Regions from separate parts of the Homo sapiens genome. Here region 2 is linked to region 1. The links are contacts of gene promoters, found by promoter capture Hi-C in human tissues and cell types (Jung and others, 2019). All regions are on one chromosome and are shown on one strand. Each heading gives the region's core, a stretch centred on a gene start or on the middle of the fragment in contact. The rest is flanking DNA. Distances are from core to core; before and after follow the strand shown.

Region 1 (2,556 bases), core at 57-2,556:
TAAAAAATAAAATTCTAACCTAAGTGTTTAGAGATTCTGATCTCAAGAATCCTTTCTATTCCCAGTGACCCCTTATTTTAGACTCATAAGTTTTCTGTCCCTGCAATGGTTCCACCCTTTCCAGGGCAGTTTGCTTCAAGCTGTATCCAGGATCTTTCCCTTAACTGTGCCAGATTTTGTTTCAGTCCTGGGATTGTTCTCCTTGTAGGTCCACAGTTGGACAGACCTAAATTCAAATATCCATACCATTTTTTCCCTGAGAGCTTCAGTTACTGCATCTATAAAAGAGGCACGACATCGGCCAGGCGCGTTGGCTCACTCCTGTAATCCCAGCACTTTGGGAGGCCGAGGTGGGCGGATCATCTGAGGTCAGGAGTTCCAGACCAGCCTGGCCAACATGGCGAAACCCCATCTCTACTAAAAAATACAAAAATTAGCTGGGAGTGGTGGCAGGCGCCCGTAATCCCAGCTACTCAGGAGGCTGAGGCAGGAGAATGGCTTGAACTTAGGAGGCAGAGGTTGCAATGAGCCGAGATCTCGCCACTGTACTCCAGCCTGGGCTACAGAGTGAAACTCCATCTAAAAAAAAAAAAAAAGAAAAGCGACACCTTCTTCATAGGGTTATCATAAGATGAAGTGATAGCATGTGTAAACGGTGCCTGGTACACTGCAGGTCTTCACATTGAGGGAGTCGTGTTTCATCCCTCTGTCCTTGAGGACCTGTTATTTTATTTTATTTATTTTATTTTTGTTTATTTATTTATTTTTGAGACAGAGTCTTTCTCTGTCACCCAGGCTGGAGTGCAGTGGCATGATCTTGGCTCACTGCAACTTCTGCCTCCCGGGTTCAAGCGATTCCCCGCCTCAGCCTCCCAAGTAGCTGGGACTACAGGCGCCCGCCACCACACCCGGCTAATTTTTTTTGTATTTTTAGTAGATATGGTGTTTCGCCATGTTGGTCAGGCTGGCCTCGAACTCCTGACGTCAGGTGATTCACCCACATCGGCCTCCCAAAGTGCTGGGATTACAGGCTTGCACCGCGCCCGGCCTGGGGGTCTGTTATTCTAAGCACAGAGCTGGCACTTGGTGGAGGTCTGTGATCTGATTGATATCCGAGATTTACCTGGTCCTCGGCAACGTTCCTGAGAACAAAACTACTCATCCCCTCAGGTTTTGGGGACCATCCCTATTTCCACGCGTTGGCGGTGGACCCTGGGCTCGCTGGGGTTTGCAATCCACGTGTCTCCCCTGCGCGCAGCAGGCGGCAGGTGCATGCGTGTGAGTAGGGCAGGGCCCCTCTGCATTCATTTCTCGCCGCTCCCCCCTCCCCCGGGCCTGGGGGTTGTGTGTGTACATAATTCAATCCCCGTGGGACTGGCGTCTGGCCTCACGCGCGGCTTGCCGGATTGGCTGTTTCAGCTCGCCCCCGCCCTCCGTACACCCCGCGTCCCAGGTGGCTCAGGCCCCTGTGGTGATCTCTGTTTACCGAGAGAGCCCGTCCAAGTTGGGCTCCATCGCTGCCCTCGCTCCCCTTCGGGGCCCCCGCCCGCCTGGGAAGCAGAGAGAAAGCCGGGCCCAGCCCTTCCTCACCCTTCCCCTCCCCGCACCGCCCGGAGAGGTCGGGTAAGGGGGAAGGAGTGTGCGTGGGACGGGGAACCTCGGGCCTGGGGATCTGGCTGTCCCCGTCCCCGTACCTCGCGCGGACCCGGGAGTTCCAGCCCTAGGCCAGGCTCCGGCTCCCTCCGCCCCGCGCCATCGCGCTCGGAGTGACGGGCCCACCCCGGGCGAGCAGCCAGAGGCTGGATCTCAGGGATGCCAGCTCCCCAGCGGAAGCACAGGCGTGGAGGCTTCTCTCACAGATGTTTCCCCACCCCGCAGACGGCGATGACCCCCCAGCCCGCCGGACCCCCGGATGGGGGCTGGGGCTGGGTGGTGGCGGCCGCAGCCTTCGCGATAAACGGGCTGTCCTACGGGCTGCTGCGCTCGCTGGGCCTTGCCTTCCCTGACCTTGCCGAGCACTTTGACCGAAGCGCCCAGGACACTGCGTGGATCAGCGCCCTGGCCCTGGCCGTGCAGCAGGCAGCCAGTGAGGGGGGCCCTGAGGCGGGAGACAGGAACGGGGAGGAGGAGCCGTGAGTGGAGGGATGGGAGACCCACCTGATTACCCGACAACCTGAGAAAGGGCAACCGGCTCTAGAAAAGAGTGCATCTTGAGGTCAAGGAGAAGAACCATTAGTTCGAGGGAGGCAAACAGCCAATGAGAAGTGTTGGAGAGAGTTTGGGGGCCCGGGGGCGTGTCTTCCGTTGACTCCGCCCCCTTTCAGGCCCCGTGGGCAGCGCCCTGAGCACGCGCTGGGGGGCCCGCCCCGTGGTGATGGTTGGGGGCGTCCTCGCCTCGCTGGGCTTCGTCTTCTCGGCTTTCGCCAGCGATCTGCTGCATCTCTACCTCGGCCTGGGCCTCCTCGCTGGTGAGGGAAGTGGGATGCCCGGGTCATTCAGGGTGAAGGAGGTGACAGGAGCTTGTTGGGATCTGGGGTAGCGAACGAGGCGGGGGCC
Region 2 (2,556 bases), core at 32-2,531, 1.7 Mb after region 1:
GCAGCAGGAAAACCTAACTAATACAAATAAAGGAAAGGAGAATCAGAACCTCCTGGCATTTACTGACCAATTATTTTGAAAGTTATTCTTTAAAAATCTGTAAAACAGAGATCACAGAATGATCAGTAAGAAATCTTTTTACCTGAGGGAAAATAAAACTGCCAAATCTTCAAGGCAAAAAAAAACATGACTATATTTTTTGAATCTTTCATTTAAATAACCCAGTCATCCCTCATGGGCCACAGTCTATAAACCCTCCCTTACCTGGTGACTCGAATCTTCGCTGCTTTGCTTTATGAAGTCTTCCAGCTCCTGCTTATCTTTCATTGTCTTCTCTAACTGGTCATTAGCTTGCCTTAGCATCAGCTGTAGTTTTTTCACCTGTATCATTTTAAAAGTCAATTAGAAAAACCAGAATCCTTTTATAATTTTTTTTTTTTTAAATCTAACTCCAGAATTTTAAAAAAAAATCTCTTATGTCTTTTTCTGGGAAACACCACAGATTTTCTAATTCAGACAGAAATTAGATAAATGACCTCAAGAGACAACTGTACTGTGGTTTACAGTTAACAAATCATTTTTCACACACATCTCATCTGAAAACATCTGCTTCTCCCTCAGATCCTCTAGACCATGACACTGTTCTCCCTAACTAGAGTGTATCCTCTGTCTCCAGTCTACAATCCACACTAACACCAGAAATTTTATAAAAGTGAAATAATATAATTTCCCTACTTAAAACTCTAAATGCCTCTCAAAGTCTTCAGGGTAAATTTTTTTTTTTTTTTTTTTGAGACAAGAGTCTCTCGCTCTGCAATCTCGGCTCACTGCAACCTCCACCTCCTGGGGTTCAAGGGATTCTCCTGCCTCAGCCTCCCGAGTAGCTGGGATTACAGGCATGCACCACCACACCTGGCTAATTTTGCATTTTTAGTAGAGGTGGGGTTTCTCCATGTTAGTCAGGCTGGTCTATGAACTCCTAACCTCAGGTGATCGGCCCGCCTCGGCCTCCCAAAGTGCTGGGATTATAGGCGTGAGCCACCATGCCCGGCTTCAGGGTAAAATTTAAATCTCTTCAATCATCACCCCTCCCTAAGTGATGTCTTCATGGCTTTCCCTTGTAGCTTACATTCCCATTATTTCGTAACAGTCACCCCCTGTGCCCAGCCACATAACTACTCATACTTCCTACAATACATCATTTTCTTTCCTAACTCTGTTCTTTGTATATTTTTTCTCTCCATGAACACCCTTTTCCCACTTCTTTTTCTGACTAATTTTTAGCCAGGCTTTAAAACAGTCTACTGAAATGTTTATGAAAACCATTCCTACACCACACTATCAGGGGCCAACTACATTAGTTTTGCAAATACATTTAGAAATTTACCTTTGAAACATCTATGCGTAAAGCACACAGTGTATGAAGGAACTCAATAGCAATGACATTTGAAAATATTAAACCATCATTCTAATTGGCTTGAAGTTATTTTGAAGGCTAAGGGAACAATCTTCATAACAACCAAAGAACAATTTGGAAATATGAGGGAAAAGTATCTTTCTTACGTAGACTTTGACAAGCCCACTCTCATGAATTTCTACATTATTTCCTAACTGCTATCAAGGTGCCCATTATTAAACACTGCACTTGAAAAAGTACTGAAGATTTATCAATCTCAGCATACCAAATCTACCAAAGCTTAATTTCTGGGAACTTATTAACCTTAATTCAACAAATTTATGACAAGAAATGAGTAATATGCACTGAAGGACACAAATTCTGATTAATATAACATTCCATTAAGCCTTTATTCTACTGGAGGCAACAATCAACCTTTTATCTCCCTGAGATCTCCATATCATAAAGTACTTGCCATGTACTTAAAATCACTTTTAGGCCTTAGGCGGAAGGGGCAGGGTGGAAGAGATTAGGTAGTGTCCCTTTAAGAGTTGGGCAGACCTGTGCAGATATACAAAAACAGAGTCCTGGCCGAGCGCGGTGGCTCACACCTGTAATCCCAACACTTTGGGAGGCTGAGGCAGGTGGATCATGAAGTCAGGAGTTTGAGACCATCCTAGGCAACATGGTGAAACCCCATCTCTACTAAAAATACAAAAAATAGCTGGGGGTGGTGGCGTGTCCCTGTAATCCCAGCTACTCGGCAGGCTGAGGGAGAAGAATCACTTGAACCAGGGGGTCGGAAGTTGCAGTGAGCTGAGATCCCCCCTGCACTCCAGCCTGGCAATAGAGCGAGACCCCCTCTCAAAAAAAACAAACAAAAACAAAAACAAAAAAAAAAAAAGCAGAGTCCTAGTGAGCTCCCACTGGAAATGTAACTGCCATTGCATGTACCAGGTTATTTCATAACTTAACAAGATGGATATGCTTCATAATGTAAATGGGGCTGGGGCCGGAGAGGGGGGCAATTAATTCTGCACCTCCAATGAAAACGACAATATCCAATTTGGCGCATCCAGAAGAAACTCACCTGGTCTCTCGTTTCAGCCTCCTGAATCTGAATTCCTTGTAACTGTTTTTCGTAATTGGAACACATATCA

What was found. The method cuts DNA at HindIII sites, captures the fragments that hold promoters and counts their contacts. A contact is called where the count stands out against the background at its distance.
Region 2: a contact is called between a fragment that was not itself captured here and the fragment with the promoter of SLC16A11 in region 1, in 1 of the 25 tissues and cell types used here (dorsolateral prefrontal cortex).

What each region holds. Positions count from the first base shown.
Region 1 is chr17:7,042,842-7,045,397 of GRCh38, reverse strand. It overlaps SLC16A11 (solute carrier family 16 member 11), which reads left to right and starts at 1,306. Exons shown (of 5, transcript NM_001370549.1): 1 at 1,306-1,623; 2 at 1,879-2,086; 3 at 2,325-2,468. The coding sequence starts at 1,885. It overlaps LOC124903909 (a long non-coding RNA gene), which reads right to left and starts at 2,331. Exons shown (of 2, transcript XR_007065598.1): 1 at 2,158-2,331. RefSeq lists silencers at 1,700-1,829, 1,900-1,959. The HindIII fragment of the contact is 14,065 bases long and covers 1-2,556 here.
Region 2 is chr17:5,362,947-5,365,502 of GRCh38, reverse strand. RABEP1 (rabaptin, RAB GTPase binding effector protein 1) reads right to left here. Exons shown (of 18, transcript NM_004703.6): 10 at 2,487-2,556; 11 at 265-381. Among named protein-coding and RNA genes, the nearest start is that of NUP88, 55 kb to the left of the region's middle. The HindIII fragment of the contact is 7,517 bases long and covers 1-2,556 here.